6 separate regions of the Homo sapiens genome follow, and all the other regions are linked to region 1. Evidence: promoter capture Hi-C in 16 types of primary human blood cells and fetal thymus (Javierre and others, 2016). All regions are on one chromosome and are shown on one strand. The core of a region is centred on a gene start or on the middle of the fragment in contact, and the rest is flanking DNA. Distances in the headings are between cores, read along the strand shown.

Region 1 (2,700 bases), core at 139-2,638:
TCAAAGCTACACTGATCTTCAAATAAAGGCTCGTCAATGCTACACTGTTCTTCAAGCAACGGCTGGTGAACTTGTTCTGACAAAGGATGGTCGACTTTTCTTGCTTGCTTCCTATGTCTTTCCTCTTCAGCTAAATAGAGATGTTTCAGATTATCTGGGTATCGATCTGTGAATTGAGATTCCAGTGACGTTTGAGCCTTCTTTTCCTTCCGTAGCAATTTCTTGTAACTTTGCTGTATTTTCAGTTTTCTTCGAAAAGCAAAGCCTTGTCCTACATTGAGGAATATCATCCAAAATTACTTTCAGAGAAAAGAAGTTGAACGAAGAATGGAGCTGTTAATTACAAATGAAAACTTTTTTTACGTCATCACATTCAGATTCTAGTATTATATTTTGCTTTAAAAAATTATTTCAAGCAACAAATTTAAGCTGATGGATTGCATAGTAAGTTGGCCCTTTGCAAAAAGACCAGGCTAACAGTCATGCGGAAATCCAAGTAAGAATCTCAAAGAAAAACTGACCAGTTCAGACTGTTGCACAACTTGAGTTTACAGCTGTATTCACAAATCAAAACAAATTCCTTAGTTCATCTAAAACACTTAATCTGAGCCTTCAATAAATGCTTAAAAAATAGGAAAGAAAATGCCACATCTAGTATCTTGGACAAACTACATGTTTTCGAAAATGTTTCAACACGAAAGAAAAAGACAGTGTATGGTTGTCTGAAAAGCTAGCAATTATCGGAAGACTGAATTTAACATTTATATATTCCAAGTGGGATCTAAGAGACCTTACAGACAGCAATACAAAATGACAAACACAAATTAAAGCGAAGGCTGGAGGGCCTCGGGTATTTGTAATAAGGAAGAATTCGGAGCAGTGTTTCTGGCCCTGTCCTCCTCTCTATCCTTTACCTTACCACATGCGCAAGAGTTCACAGGGTCATAGACTCTCTCTGCTCAGTTTCTCAGGAAAAATATAGGAAAAAAGTTCTGATGAAATACAGGGTTACGTCAGAAAAGACGTTTAAATAATAGCAACACTGCTCCGTCTTCCTATCTAGAGCTCTGCGAAGCTCACAGCTTTAGCGGGCTCAGGAATGAATTCCCTTGCCCCAAGTAGGACCGGGTCTGGTTCCTAAATCCTTCTTCCAAGCTTCAGCGAATCTTATATCCTAAAACTTAGCAAGCCTGAGGATTTGCAAATGGTTGCCTTCTTACATACCCTCGCGAACGCTCCCCACGAAGGCTTGCGGGTGGTTAGGCCGCCATGTCTTCTGTCTCACATTCTTATTCCTGTACCCGACAGTGGAAACCCCTTCACCACGCGCCTCAATACCACCAGGCCGCCACTTCGCGGACCGCCTCACCGGCGCCATTGCAGCCGACTAACTGCGTCATCAGAAGACCACGACGGACGCCCACAAAATACGTCACCAAGCCGAAGCAATCAATCGCTCAGAAGGAATCCGGCTCGGAGCTCTACTGAGCCTGCCTGTGCTAATTTGGGCCGAGCTGGCGCCTCACGGCCATGTTTGCGCCACCTACAGCCTCGGAGGGTGAGCGTCATGGCGGCTTCTTGCCCTCTCCCGGTGACCCCGGACCTGCCCACGCTGCGTGCCAAGTTGCAGGGACTGCTGCAGTTCCTGAGGGATGCCCTGTCCATTTCCAATGCACATACCGTGGATTTCTACACAGAATCCGTGTGGGAGGAGCTGGTCGACTTGCCACCGGAGACAGTGCTGGCTGCGCTGAGGAAGTCAGCGTCGGAGACGGAGGCCCTGCCCTCAGAGACGCGCCCCCTAGTGGAAGCAGAGTGGGAAGCAGGTGGGTGGTGGGGTAGGCGGGGCGGGAAGGGAGGCGGAGGAGAAGGTCCCGGCAGACGAAGCGAGCCCCCTGGTGGAAGCCAGCAGAACCAGGTGCGTGGCGGCGGAGGCGGGGCGGCCCGCTGGGAAACCGAGGAGGGGTCGGATTAGTTGAGGGGTGGGGTGGGGATGTTCTTTGGAATCAGGATCACTCTTTCTTTGGGTGCTTGTGTATGTCCACAATTTAAAGAAAGCAGGAAACAGGGCAGGGGAGTTCCTTCATCTAGTAATTCCATAATAATTGACGCTAGGGAAACTAGGGGAGCAGTGCTCTCACAGGTTTTATAAATGCCAGCATGTGGTGGAAGATTACTCAACAGTTAATAAAGATAATTTCAAGTGGTGGTAATGAAGTAGAAAATAAAAACAGTGTAATGTGGTAGGGATTGTGTAAGGAGGCTGCCTCAATTTAGGAGGTCAGGAACATGAGAAGGCACTAGCTGCAGAGCCACAGGGAGGGGTTGCAGGCGGTGGGAACCGCAGGCTAGGCTTGGCTCTAGCCAGGTGAGGGGCTGCAGGTGCAGGACGGGAGGCAAGCAGAGGCCAGATGGCACAGGCCTTTCTAGGCCTTGGAAGGATTTTGGATTTTAAGTGTGACGGAAACCCTTGGGATTATTTAGGCAACATAGTGACCTAATTCACATTTGAAAAGATAACTGTGAATTATTTGAAGAATAGACTAGGGCAAAAGCTGAAGCTGAGAGGCCAGTTAGGAGACTACCTCAGTAGTACAACAGATGATTGTATCTTGGACTAGGATGGTATTCGGATAGTCACTATTTCATTTAAAAACTATTTTAAAGTACCTAATATGTGTCTTGAATTTTTGTAGGCTC
Region 2 (2,771 bases), core at 261-2,760, 2.6 Mb before region 1:
CGTTTATTTTAAACTTGTTTCAAAGAGTGACAGGCAAAGCCAACACACAACACATTATTGCAGTGTACTGTTTTATTCTCCCTTAAATGATAAGCATTCTGGGGTGTTATGCAAAAAGCAAGCAGCAGTAATTGATGAGCTGTAAAACTGGTTAGGTCATACCGCCCAGAAGATACTGACTCTTGCCGGTCACCTTTCAGATACAAACCATTTAAATTTAGTTTAATCACACTGAAACTATTTCCAAGACACTCTTTCCCAGATTAATAAATAATGCTGATATTTAGTCAAGCAGTACATTTACTGTAAATGTTAATGTTTTTAGGGTATGTGATTTTAAAAAGTAGACAGAATCCTACTGATCGTCTTTTAAGTACCATGTTATTCCAACATCGGCATGCCTAAACATTATTGTATAGACAGAAACATTATTTTCAATACATAGATCTTTCTTCTACTAAATAATACAGTCATGACAAATTCATACAAATCATCACACTTCTCAAAATACTAGCACATAAAGTGTCATATTTGATCTTTACCACTTTGCAAAATATCAGAAATAGAATATTTCTTCTGAGAGGTAATCTCCCTATGAGCCTCAATTTTATTAGGTGTCTTCAAGATTTTAAATTAGTGGTAAAGTAAGACAAGAAAACTACACCCAACTGCCTGATTCTATTAGCTCAATGAAATTGACATCTGTAAAATGATATGAAATTTCTTATGTTTGACAAACATATTAACATTAAAAAATATAACTGGCCAGGCACAATGGCTCAAGCCTGTAATCCCAGCACTTTGGGAGGCCTAGGTGAAAGGATGCATAAAGCCAAGAGTTCAAGACCAGCCTTGGCAACAAAGTGAGACCTTGTCTCCAAAAAGAAATTAAAAAAATAGTTGGGTGTGGAGACATGCACCTGTAGTGCCAGCTATTCTGGAGGCTGATGCAGGAGGATTGCTTGAACCCAGGAACTGGAGGATGCAGTGATCGGTGACTGTGCCACTGTACTCCAGCCTGGGTGACAGAGCAATATTCTGTCTCTTTAAAAAAACAGACAAACAAACAAAAAAAAAACACAAGGAAAAAAAATATGGTTTAGAGAAAATGCATGTAAAGTGTTTAATTTTGTGCCTGCTTGATATACAGAGAATGATGAATAAATGTTAGCAGTTACTATTAATACCATGATTATAGAGAGTGGATTAGCTACTTTGTAATTTATCTGCATTTGACAAGCAGAAAAAGGAGGTTAGGTGAGCTTGTCAGAGTATGAATGTGTCTGCATCATGTGTATGTTAGAAAAAAAAAGTATCAAAATATCAGCTATCTCTGCATGACAGATTACAGATAATTTAATATTGTCTTCTTTTGTTAAAGTTTCTGTAATAAACATATTACTTTCATAAGAAAAATTAAATATTTAAAATTGTGATTGTATTTGAAAAATAAATACTACTTTAAGTACAGTTTGTTATCCATGCCTTTCATCTCAACCGTTAGTATAACAGAGAACTGATTTTATTATTTCTGCCTATCCTGGAGATAAAATTCAGTAACAGTTAAATATTCTAACAGGATATAATAATATTAAATTTATTAAAACAATATTTTAGCAATTATTATGTCCATTTTGAAAACATGACTCAGAACACTAATTTTTAAAACTTGCAGAAAGCATAATAAAATGGTAGCTATTGCAAGGTACAACTAGCAAATGACAGACATTATAACACTATTTTTATATTCTTTTTTTTTAACCATTTCTCTTTTTTTTGGTGAAAAGGGCAAATTGGTTATTTTAAAATAGAATGGAAGAAAAATGTTTTTATATCAATAGCTCCTAAGTATTTACTCTTTGATCATAGCTACCAGCATGTCATTTCTTCTCTGGTCGAAACCCTACCAAGTCTAGCTACTGCTCAGCTACACTACAAACAATCTTTGGGCACTTTTCCTTTAACTTTTGGATCATTTATACATTTTCAACTGATGAGGCTAAACTTGTACAGTTATTCCTATGACTACTCCTAGACCTTTGAGCAACAATAAGTGAAGAGAAATACAAGTGAATGTATTACAATCAATAAAAACTTGCAGAAAGACATCAAGTGGCATAAGGATTTTCTTGTAATCTTTTTTTTGTTTAAAATAGCCTACTTAAGTTAAATATTTAAACTCAAAATTTTAAAAAATTATTAAATTAACTTTAAAAAGAATTTGAAAATTTGATGTTCCAGATTTAGAAACTTTATTTCAAGAACGAAAGTATTTTAGGTTTATAAAGAATTAAAATAAATGTATTTATGATTAAAACGTTTTAGGTACAGGCCATAAGAGATAAACGGCATTTCAAAAATATCAAATTCACTATCAAAATGTGTATAGTACATTTCAGAATCAAGGCAAGACAGTTTTTTTAAATTCATTAAAAGAATTATGTGGTAAATTAAATTTTATTTAACAAGGTCATTTCATACCTAGAGAAACCCCATAGAATTCTATAAAGAAGTTGCTGCAAAATACATTAACTCAATAAATATTTAAACTAATTAAAACTGTCATCCATAATAACAAAATAAAAACAAAAAACCTACCATTGTTTACCTAAAACAAGAAAGAAAAAAATAATTATTTAATAAGTGGGACACTTACCCTTTTTTCCATTTCCAACAGTGATCTATCAGCAAATCTTTCTTGTCTCTGCAACAAAGTAAGAAATTATAAAAGAGATAAGTGCAAAAAAGTTCAGGGGTGACCACAGTAATTC
Region 3 (2,717 bases), core at 169-2,668, 2.4 Mb before region 1:
GTAATAAGTAAATCTTTTTAAATAATCCAGTTTCTGGTATTCCGTTATAAGCAAAAGAAAACAGGACTAATACAACATCCTAGTCATTACTTGTTCTCTTTTTTATTAAAGCCATCCTAGTAGGTGTGAACTAGTATCTCATTGTGGGTTTGATTTGCATTTCCCAAATGGCTAATTTCATTTTACTGTCGACTCTATGAGGGTACTGTTGGTATATTTTTGCTCAAAAATGTGTCTTCTCAGCACTTAGTAGTGTCTGGCACAGAAGAGACCTTTAATATATGTTAAATGAATATACAAAAGATGATTTTTTTTTAGGTGTGTGCATGGTAGAGGAGATGTACTGTATGCAAGTGAGGAGAAAACAGAAAAAGACCCTGAGATTCTAGCTTAGTAAATGGAAGACTGATATAAAAAATAAGATATGGATCATGTAAGAAGGAGGACAGATCATATAAAAAGAAAGTTGAAACTACATAAATAACACAAAAAAGAATAATAGACATATGAGAACCTTGGCAACATTCATCTTCAAGAAAGAAACTGACAAAAAGGTACACTAAACAGGTACATTCAGAAGACAAACCAGTAGTGAATAGGGTCATAAAAGGCTCAAAACATCTGCTGATAAGTTACCTATAACTTACAGAGCTTTCTCAGGGATGTCTTCCATTGATACTCTGGGTTAAGCCCGCCTAATAAAGCCTTTAATTTCACCTTGTATCTCTACTCTACCACTTATTTACATTGTAATCATCGGCTCATGCTGCCACCTCAACTAGATTGTATACTACATGTAGCCAGGGACCACTGTTTTTAGAGATTAGTACTGTGCTGGACATATGATAAATGGTGATCTCTCTATGTTTCTTGCATGAATGAGTTATTCACTAATTTAAATGAATAACAGCATCATATAAATGAATACAGATATTGTTTAATATTTTAATAACTTCAAAATTTTCAAACATTAGAACTAAACCTTACATAAAGAAAAAAGGAAGAACACTTTTTACCTTGTCTTCCCCAATTGCTTCTCTGAGTGAAATACAACTAATTTTATTCTCACAAACACACACACACAGAGTAATAAAGCAATAAAACAATTTTCCTCAGCCAGGCATGGTAGTGCATGGCTGTAATCCAAGCACTTTGGGATGCCAAGGCAGGAGGATTGCTTGAGCCCAGGAGTTTGAAACCAGCCTGGGCAACACAGCAAAACCTTGTCTCTACTACTAATAATAATGATTTTAAAAGTCAGCCAGTTGTGGTGGGCACACGCCTGTAGTCTCAGCTACTCAAAAGGCTGAGGTGGGAGAATCACTAAGGCCAGGCAGTCGAAGCTGCAGTGAGCTGTGTTCACACCACTGCACTCCCAGCCTGGGTAACAGAGCAAGACCCCATCTCAAAACAAAACAAAAAAAACAATAAATAAAACAAAAATCTGCCTGTGGGTGACATATAGGGGATAACATTATCGCATCAATTTAACAGATGTGTCAACATGAGTACTTTCACGGTTAGTTTTCCATTTTCAATATACTAGAAACTTTATTAAAAATGCCTTTTGCAGACTTAGAACTAACCCAAATCCCCATCAATGATGAACTGGATAAAGAAAATGTAGCACATACACACCATGGAATACAGTCATAAAAAAGAATGAGTTCATGTCCTTTGCAGGGACATGGATGAAGCTGGAAGCCATCATTCTCAGCAAACTAATACAGGAACAGAAAACCAAACACCTCAGGTTCTCACTCATAAGTGGAAGTTGAACAATGAGAACACATGGACACAGGGAGGACCATCACACACTGGGGCCTGTCGGGGGCTCAGGGGCAAGGGTAGGGAGAGCATTAGGACAAATACCTAATGCATGCAGGGCTTAAAACCTAGATATGAGTCGGTAAGTGCAGCAAACTACCATAGCATAAGTATACCCATGTAACACACCTGCACGTTCTGCACATGTATACCAGAACTTAAAAGTAAAAAATTTTTTAAAAAGTATTTTGTATAAACAATCATTTAAATGGCATGTTATTTTGAGCAAAACATAAGATTGCAGATAAGATTTCTAAGGAACAATCCTAAGGAATACAATGTGATGAGCGAGTAAAAATGTACATGGTATAGGCCAGGTGCGATGGCTCACACCTGTAATCCTAGCACTTTGGGAGCCCGAGGTGGGTAGATCACCTGAGGTCAGGAGTTCAAGACCAGCCTGGCCAACATGGTGAAACCCCATCTTTACTAAAATACAAAAATTAGCCGGGCATGATGGCGGGTGCCTGTAATCCCAGCTACTCGGGAGGCTGAGATGGGACAATCGCTTGAACCCAGGAGACGGTAGTTGCAGTCAGCCGAGATCACGCCCCTGCACTCCAGCCTGAGCTGCTGAGGGAGACTTCGTCTCAAAAAAATAAATAAATAAATAAATAAGATGTACATAATATTCACCATATGATAAAAAGTGGAAAATATACTAAATGTTCATCAGGAAAGGACTAGGAAAATAAATTCCAAGATGTATATGCACATGCACACACAATGGAATACGATACACTCATTAAAAGGGAAAATGTATATGAATATTCTTTAACACAGAAATGTTTCTTAAAATACATAATGTTTCAAAACTGGTTATAAACCAGAAAATTAGGTATGACCCCATTTATAGAAAATTACATACTTGTACAGAGATATTTAAAAGG
Region 4 (2,909 bases), core at 99-2,598, 2.7 Mb before region 1:
AAGTACGAGCCAGGGGAGGTAAACTCTGCGCCCCGGGTAGCTCCCAGGAGGAAGACACCGGGAGGCAGCTGCCCGCCCCGGCCCGGTCCGGCTGCGGCCCCCGCCCGGCTCACCTCTGCGGCAGGGATGTTGACCACGCCGGTGGAGCGCCGCTTCTCCCGCAGCTTCCTCTTCTCGATCTGCCCCTTGCCTTTCCTGGCACTGGGGCCCGAGCTCTTGCCCTTCTCTGGGACGCCGTCCGGCTCCTCCTCGTCACGCTGGGGCGGCGGTGCAGCCGAGGCAGAGGCGGCTGGGGGCTCGTCCTCCGACCGCCGCGGGCCGGGGGCCGCCCGCGTCAGCATGGCGGAGCCGACCGCGCAGTTCACGCCCCCGGGACCGGGGACGGCAGGTGCGGCCGGCGCGCCGCCCGGGAGGTTGTTGTTGAGCTCGTTGGCAGCGGCGGCCGCCGGGGTGCCCAGAGCCCCCGCGGGGGGCTTCCCAGCGGCGTCGCTGCTGCCCCCTCCCGGGGGGGCCGGGCCCGGGGGGTTCTGCTTGGCGCGCATCTTCTCGCGTTTCGCCTTCCACTCCTCCAGGAAGTCTGTGGTGCTGCCGCCGAGGCCGCTGCTGGTCCGGTAGCCACCGGTCGCCATATTCCCAAAGGGGCCGGTCGGGCTCTCACCTCAGGCCGCCCACCAGGGCTCCGGCCGCTGCCTCCTCTTCCTTCCTGCGGCCCCGAGGATGCCAGGAGACGACCTCCAGGAGAGGGACGGCCGCCGCTCCCACAGCAGCCGGCGGGGCTGAGGTGAAAGACAAAAGGGGGCGGGTAAGGGAAGCGTAAGATCCCCGCCCGACCCAAGGGTCTGCCCCCGGGCTGCGCCCCTTGGAGTCCTCGAGCGCGCCCACCAGTCACTACCGGCCAGCAGCCGCCGGGTCCCCACCCTGCAAAGTTTCTCCCACGCACCTACAGTACGGACCCCGACGATCGCCGCCCCTAGAAGGGAGGAGAGAGGACTGACCCCACCCCCAAGTCGGCCCGCCCGCCCCATCCCCACCAAGGTCCGCGCCGGCGGCGGTCGAGATACTAGGGCTAGACCCGCCACCTGTCGGCTCGTCGTATCGCCTGCTCCGCGCTCTAGCCACCGCCGGTCCGAGGTCCCCGTCAGCTACAACCCCACTCCCAAGGCGAGGCGCGGAGCTCCTAGCCGGTTCGCAGAGGAGGCGGGGACCCAGCTGTCCCGCCGAGCGTGGAAAGGACCGGGTGTGAGCGAGCGCCTTACCTTGGAGGAGCTTGTAGGGGACGAGGCGTAGGGCTGGGATCCGGCTCCCAGGTGTGCCGAAGCTGGCGCGCGCTCTTCCGCCGCGCGGAAAGTGCCGCGGCAAACTCGCGGTGCGGAGCTCCAGGCAATCCCAGGACAGGAGGGAGGGAGAAGAAGGAGGGAGGGAGGGAGGGAGGGAGCCAGGGGCGGGAAGGGAGCCGAGCGGCGCCGAAGCACGAGCGGAAAAGGCCGAGGCGGCGCGCGAGGGGCGCGGCGCGCGGTGGGAAGGGTCGTGGCCGCTGACGCCCCGCCCCCGGCGCTCAGGTGCGCGGCGTCGCGTCCGGCCCGCCGCTGCAGCCTGCCCTGCGCCAGCCGTCCTCTGCCCCGCTCCCGCCGCAGACCACAGCGCGCCCGCCGCGCTCCGCCCGCGGCCTGCGAGTTAGACGGCACATTCCTGGGCTAGCAGCTTCGCGGCGTCCGGCCTCCCGGCGCCTCCGACTCCGGGGCGGGAACGGCACTCCACGCCCTTCTTGCTTGTCTTCTCCGCCTCTCTCTTCTCCCACCACTCTTCCTTTTAAGTACAAGACCGTATTATTTGAGAGAAAGTCTCGAACGCTGCTGGCTAAGGGGAAAAGTGCGATAACTTGTGATGATTCAGGGAATGACTAGACAGGATGGGAAAATACCCACGTGTCTCTTTTCCTAGTCGCTGCTCCCTTTTCAGATGTACTAGGGCAGCGGGCAGGAGAATAGAAAGACCTGAGACAAACCCAGCACCCTCCTTCTAAGAAAACTGCGGTGCCCTGGTGAAAAGGGTTGGCTAAGAGGAAGGACTTACTAGTATCTTAGGGTTGCGGGAGAAAAAACTCAGTTCGACAGTTTATTGTATTGGCGATTCCAGTCTTGGAGTTTTCCCCTTAACCCTGTCTCTGCCTCTCCTCTTTACAGAGAATGAATTTAGCAGCAAAGCTCCCTACCAAAGTACTAACGCTGCACTGATGCTAATTTGAGATGAGCTGGGGCAGTGATTGTCTCTATTTTTTCATTATTAACATGCCAGAGGCTTATCCTCTGATGCAAGTCATCTGAAATTTCTGGATCAGAGCGGGGTGGGCTGTCACTGACGCACCTAAGACTGACCTTTCTATATCCAAGTAATGTCAGGGCACATCATTGTGGGAGGCTACAAATGCCAGGTCTCCATTTTGTAAAAAAGTAGGAGAGCCCTAAGTCACGCTCTTACCTAACATAAACCTTTCTTCCTACTTAATATTCCTGTTTTGCCCAGGTAGCACATGATGAGTGAGCAATCAGTGTTTGCCTGCCACAGAACTGGGAACAGAAGAAAGTGATTCACATGCTCTATATTTCTCAGGGAAAGACAGTTTTGGTCTTTGGTCTGGCTGTTGTGGGAAACGTATGGCGAGAGCTCTGGAAAAATCCTTAGAAAATTAAAAGCTTTTGTTGGGAATAGGTCTAAAAGGCTGAGCGGCTGTTTACCTAAGCTAGTACCAACCCCAGTGTGCCACCTGAAGTTTCTCAATTACATATTCATTAGTTTGTTTTCTGAGTTTTAAGGAGAGTAAGGGAGGCTGGGACATTAAACGTATTCACATTCATATGCTTTGTAACTTATCAGAGGACTTTTCTCCTGGAAGGGCTGCAGGATATAGT
Region 5 (2,700 bases), core at 162-2,661, 2.7 Mb before region 1:
ATTCTCAAGTGTTCTTTAAAAAAAGAAAAAAATCAAATGATACATGGAAAAAGATTTCAAAATATACTGAAACTGTTAAATAAGTTATTTATATAATGAATAAACAGTTATTCATTCTTTTTTTTTGTTTGTTGGGTTTGTTTTTTTAAGACAGTCTCTTGTTCTGTCACCCAGGCTGGAGTACAGTGGCACAATCTTGGCTTACTGCAACCTCCACCTCCCGGTTCAAACATACTATAGGTGTGCACCACTATACTGGGCTAATTTTTGTATTTTCAGTAGAGATGGGGTTTTGCCATGTTGCCCAGGCTGGTCTCAAACTCCTGAGCTCAAGCAATCCACCCTCCTCCACCTCCCAAAGTACTGGAATTACAGATGTGAGCCACCACGCTTGGCCTTTTTTGTTCTTAAACAGGTTACTTTTCTAAGAAAAATGTAAATATTTTTAACCTATGGGTATACAAAATGCTAAAAATAGGTGGATGTTTGAAACAGGAAAAAAAATTAAGTTGTTAATCACACTGTATTCATTCGTTGCACCACAGCATGTTTCTATTGTTTTTCCCCCATTTTAAAAAGCCATGTAAACAGTTTTAACAATGACAAAAAGTTTTAAGCAACTAATTGGCAGTACATAAGCAAAGTCCAAGAGAAAAATGCAAGTAAAGTTACTAAATTATAGAAAAGGCTGGTTGGTTGGTTGAATTGTATCCTCAAAGATTACAGAATTAGGTAATGAAAGCTTAAAAAACCAAATTATCAAATCTGTTACTGAAATCAAAATAAAATCCAAAGAGCAATATACTTTACCAGGAGAATGTCTATCTTATGTGTCACTATTATACATCATTTTTTCTTGGGGAAAAAAAAAATGCAATGAATAAGAATAAAAATTCTTCATAGAAAAATCATTAGGTTTCAAAATGCCAAAAATATCTCATTCAATTCATTCTGAAAAGTCCATCTGACATTAGAAAAAATAATTCCTGAGACAGCAAATGTTACAAAGGGAGTAATTTACAAAATATCAAGGTAATAGCAATCACTGTAACTGAACCTTTCTTATAACTACACGAATTTATCAATAGATACTCTCTAGTATCAAATATTAAAACTTCAGTTCACAATAAAAAAAAGGCTATCATAAGCTGAACTTCAAATTTTAAGTGTACTTCAAGATTTTGTGATTTTAAAGCAAAACCTTAGAAGAAAACACAATTTATAAATGAAATAATTTCCATATCAGAATATGTTTGCCACTTTTTTTTTAGGGGTTTTTTTTTTTCATTATTTCCCTAGTTGACAGACCACCTTCTTAATCCTACATGTCAAGCACTGAGCTAAGTATTAAGGATACTAAAATAGACTGTCAAGGAAAACCTAGCTTAAAAAGGAAAAATATTAGCCAGGCACAGTAGCACGAACCTCTAGTCCCAGCTACGCTGGAGGCTGAGGCAGGAGAATTGCTTAAGCCTAGGAGTTTGAGTCTAGCCTGGGCAAAAAGCAAGACCTTAGCACTTAAAAAAAAAAAAAAAAAAAAAGGAAAGAAAACATTACATTCAAATACTAATTTTAAATTCCACTACAGCCTAAAGTTGTTTGGTGGTGTTTTAAACTTTAATTCAACAAAATGGAAAGTACTAGACAACATAATTGAAATCTCTTTTCTCTAATCAATTTACCATCTAAAATATTCCACCAATTTCAAGATTAAATCCCTTCACTAGGAGAATCATGTGGCTAGATTTAATCAAAACAGGAAAGGTTTTAATCAATATTCTGTACTAGAAACATAGCCCTTATGTGTAGTTAGCGTAGAAGTAGCTTCTCTAAATTCAAATATATGGCTATAGGTTTTTGTAGATATTCATCAAACTGAGGCCATTCCCATCTATTCCTAGTTTACCAAGAAGTTTTACTGTGAATGGGTATTGGATCTTGTCAAATACTTTTTCTCCATCTATTAATATGAGATTTTTCTTCTTTAGCTTGTTGATGTGTTTACCATGTTAATTGTTTAGTTTCCTCGATACGAGGGATATAAAGACAAATAGTTCATTTAACTTTTTATGATAATTAAATAAGCTTATACATGTAATGAACTTAGAACAATGCCTAGCATATACTCAAAATGTTAAGATTATTTATAAAGAGGCTCAATCATAATTTCTACAAAAAGGACACAGCCAGGCACAGTTGTGCACCTGTAGTCCTAGTTACTTGGGAGGCTGAGGCAAGAGGATCACTTGAGCCCAGGAGCTCAAAGCCAGCGTGGGCAACATAGCAAGACCCTATCTCTAAAAATAAAAATATTAAAAAGCTATACTTCTGCATGACATCATTTTACTGCACGAATAGCAGTGAAAAGTATTGTTAGTTAATGGCATCAGCATCCACCCAATTGCTCTAAAGGAAAACCTAATTATCATTTTGATTGCTCTGCTTCTCACAGAAAGTGCTGTCAGCTCTACCTCTAAAACATATTCCATACGCAATCCCGTCTCTCCATGGCCCCTACCTCCCACCTGGTCACTCTCTCCTGTATTGCTGTAGTGGTCTGCCCTCTCCTTCCCGTACACAGAGCCCATTCTTTACCTACAACCTAAACTGATCTTTCTGAAACAAAAATTAGATCAAGTACTTCCTCTGCTTCAACCAACAAGCAGCTCCCAACTGCACTTAAACTCCAAACTCTACCAT
Region 6 (2,725 bases), core at 191-2,690, 2.4 Mb before region 1:
AAAGTGGAGAGCAACTCAGAATTGATGAAGTATACTTTTTTTTTTTTTGCAGGAAGAATAGGCAAGAAATATAGTTGGTAAAGTAGGCAGAAAATAGATCATGAAGAATCTTTTATGCCATTCTAAGGAGTCTGGATCTTATCCTATCAGGTCAGAGTTCACAGGTTGATTGTTCACAGACTACACAAGTGGCTTGTTTGGCTTATGCCGTGCTTTAAAACGTGATGAATTATTTGTTGACATTTAAAAGCTAAACCGTTTCACATAAAATCTGGATTTCCAGTCTCTTTTGAAGAACTGGAAGTTCTGGCCACATTTTCCCGCATTTGACAGGCTCTAATGTCACCACTCTGCAATAGTCCCCATCTGATCTGCTTTGTTCCGTTGTCACTTCTGCTACCTGCCTGGCACCTGAGAGCTTTGGCAGTTGCTACTTCTGCTTCAGATGATGAGAAATTATTGAAGCAAGAGAGTAATACCAGATATTTGGGTCAGAAAGATCATTCTGGAAGAAAAATAGAGGACAGGCACCGGGGCATAGCGAAGAGTGCCCTAAAGAAATGAATGCAAATTCTAGAGTAACAGTGGATATGTTTACAGAGGGAGAACAAACACATCACTTTGCCTTAGACACCATTTATCCTCCTAAACCGCGGGATAGCTCAGAGGAGACAAGACTCATGCAGTACTGAGGTGACAGTTGAAGATGGCCTCAGCTAGAGCAATGACAGTACAGATGAAAAGGAGGGGCCAGGAATCAATAAAGCTTAATCATTGATTGTATGTGGCATGTAAAAACTGGAAGGAATGTAAAATAATTTCCAAGTGAATGATAAGAGAACAAGGTGCTAAAAATCTTCACTTATCACACTAATAAAAAAATTATTCTGTATTGAACAAATTTGCCTTCATAGTGATTAGCTTACTAGATCTATTTTCACATATGCCTAGTAACTATAAATTAGTCAATTATACATCATTTCTAAGTAAAACTCTAGGAAAGATAATTAAATGCAAAATGAATGGAAATTTTAAGAACTTAACGATCACTAGGAACAACTAAAGGTTTTTTGAGAAATGAGCCATGCTAAATTAGGCTCGCTTATCATTTTGTTGCTTGTGTGTTTGTTTTGTTAAGAATGCTAGGCTAAGTCAGGATCACGTAGTGATAGAGTCTGAGAGAGTAGGCACAATTAATAAAACTTCTCTAAGCTGCTTTGTCATGATAGGTACATGGTAGTCATTGCATTTTTTAACCTGAACACATTATTTCTCATACTGTATCAGCTTTCCATTTTTCTTTTTTCTTTCTTTTTTTTTTTTGAGATGGAGTTTTGCTCTTGTTGCCCAGGCTGGAGTGCAGTGGCGCGATCTTGGCTCACTGCAACCTCCGCCTAAGGTTCAAGCGATTCTCCTGCCTCAGCCTCCTGAGTAGCTGGGATTACAGGCATGCACCACCATGCCTGGCTGATTTTGTATTTTTAGTAGAGATGACGTTTCACCATGTTGGCCAGGCTGGTCTCAAACTCCTGACCTCGTGATCTGCCCGCCTTGGCCTCCCAAAGTGCTGGAATTACAGGCGTGAGCCACCGCTCCTGGCCAGCTTTCCATTTTTGAAATGATTCTCCACATTATCCTAGTTTCTCTTTTTCAATTTTACTTTCCATTTTTAATTTTTTCATTTGGTTTTCAGTCACTAATTGAGTGACAGTGTTGTCTTCTACCCATTGAACTTTAGATATTTCTAGTTTTCCCAAACTATATGACTTTTATTTAAATCCTCAATATTATTACACCTATTGTATATATCTTTACCTCTCTGACTCATAATTTCTCACTTCTCATACGCACACATGTGTACACACACGCTATATATATATGTATATTCTATAGTATACTATATGGAAACGATTTAATTTTTATTTTACTTGCTTTCATTTTTCATTATTTTTCAAATTCATCCTTTTGAATTTTATCCATATGTCTTATTTTTATTATTATAGATAAAATTCTATAACTATGACATTCTTTTTATACCCTATTATGTAGTTACTCCAGTAATTACATAATATACATATATACATATAATGTACACAATAGACGTATAAAAATAAAGAAGCTTGTACATGTTTCATTCACACCTATGTTGGTAAAAGAAGATATGAAAAACATACTGAGAGGAATAAGGGTTAGGTTTGCCACATGCATACAGATTTGTAAGACATGAATGAGTTGAAATTATAAACGAGAATGACTTTAATTACATCTAAGTAGGCAAACAGCCAAGATCTTTCTGTCTGAGAAAGTAATTAATTTTCACTTTTCTTTAGCGTAGGTTAAAGAAAAATTTTAGAGTGGATAAGAAAGCCGTTCCTCTGTTCATTTTCATAAAAATCATTGCAATATCTAATCTCTCAGGAATAGGAAATGTTTATATGGCATTAGATTAGTTGAGATCTGAAGTGAAAGCTTGAAAACCTGTCTCAGTAACATTATTCCTGTACTTTTATAGCTATTCTTGTGTTTTTTACTGTGACACCCTGTCTGGTTTCCTTTATCTCCAGATTCCTATTACAGATCAACCCTGTTTATTTCATTTCTAGAGGTAAAAGTTGACATAGTATGGTTTTCTCAATTGTAAAGGTTTCTGGTATGCTATCGGCTTAATTCTGAAGGCAAGACAAATATAAGAAGTAAAGAGGAAAGAACTAATATTTTGGCACGA

What was found. Contacts are between HindIII fragments. The CHiCAGO score rates a contact against its expected background, and 5 or more counts as called.
Region 2: a contact is called between a fragment that was not itself captured here and the fragment with the promoter of CCDC59 in region 1, in 1 of 17 cell types (total CD4 T cells). The highest score is 5.3, in total CD4 T cells.
Region 3: a contact is called between a fragment that was not itself captured here and the fragment with the promoter of CCDC59 in region 1, in 5 of 17 cell types (total B cells, total CD4 T cells, non-activated CD4 T cells and 2 more). The highest score is 11.9, in total B cells.
Region 4: the fragment with the promoter of PAWR here is called in contact with the fragment with the promoter of CCDC59 in region 1 in 2 of 17 cell types (total B cells and naive B cells); the score reaches 18.4 in total B cells.
Region 5: a contact is called between a fragment that was not itself captured here and the fragment with the promoter of CCDC59 in region 1, in 1 of 17 cell types (total B cells). The highest score is 5.4, in total B cells.
Region 6: a contact is called between a fragment that was not itself captured here and the fragment with the promoter of CCDC59 in region 1, in 4 of 17 cell types (total B cells, total CD8 T cells, naive CD4 T cells and 1 more). The highest score is 11.9, in total B cells.

Annotation. Positions count from the first base shown.
Region 1 is chr12:82,356,999-82,359,698 of GRCh38, forward strand. It overlaps CCDC59 (coiled-coil domain containing 59), which reads right to left and starts at 1,389. Exons shown (of 4, transcript NM_014167.5): 1 at 1,225-1,389; 2 at 1-271. The coding sequence starts at 1,378. METTL25 (methyltransferase like 25) reads left to right here and starts at 1,531. Exons shown (of 12, transcript NM_032230.3): 1 at 1,531-1,826. The coding sequence starts at 1,568. RefSeq lists enhancers at 1,198-1,758, 1,269-1,828, 1,759-2,319. The HindIII fragment of the contact is 1,548 bases long and covers 1,154-2,700 here.
Region 2 is chr12:79,779,159-79,781,929 of GRCh38, forward strand. It overlaps PPP1R12A (protein phosphatase 1 regulatory subunit 12A), which reads right to left. Exons shown (of 25, transcript NM_002480.3): 23 at 2,657-2,704. PPP1R12A-AS2 (PPP1R12A antisense RNA 2) reads left to right here. Exons shown (of 7, transcript NR_187531.1): 7 at 1-748. Among named protein-coding and RNA genes, the nearest start is that of PAWR, 90 kb to the left of the region's middle. The HindIII fragment of the contact is 3,713 bases long and covers 1-2,771 here.
Region 3 is chr12:79,920,855-79,923,571 of GRCh38, forward strand. The region is part of intron 1 of PPP1R12A (protein phosphatase 1 regulatory subunit 12A); the gene reads right to left. Among named protein-coding and RNA genes, the nearest start is that of PPP1R12A, 13 kb to the right of the region's middle. The HindIII fragment of the contact is 5,323 bases long and covers 1-2,717 here.
Region 4 is chr12:79,689,616-79,692,524 of GRCh38, forward strand. It overlaps PAWR (pro-apoptotic WT1 regulator), which reads right to left and starts at 1,349. Exons shown (of 7, transcript NM_002583.4): 1 at 1,257-1,349; 2 at 114-776. The coding sequence starts at 629. PPP1R12A-AS2 (PPP1R12A antisense RNA 2) reads left to right here and starts at 417. Exons shown (of 7, transcript NR_187531.1): 1 at 417-781. RefSeq lists silencers at 57-576, 1,347-1,646. The HindIII fragment of the contact is 6,027 bases long and covers 1-2,691 here.
Region 5 is chr12:79,669,604-79,672,303 of GRCh38, forward strand. The region is part of intron 2 of PAWR (pro-apoptotic WT1 regulator); the gene reads right to left. Among named protein-coding and RNA genes, the nearest start is that of PPP1R12A-AS2, 19 kb to the right of the region's middle. The HindIII fragment of the contact is 1,343 bases long and covers 741-2,083 here.
Region 6 is chr12:79,944,956-79,947,680 of GRCh38, forward strand. No RefSeq gene overlaps it. Among named protein-coding and RNA genes, the nearest start is that of PPP1R12A-AS1, 11 kb to the left of the region's middle. The HindIII fragment of the contact is 1,353 bases long and covers 765-2,117 here.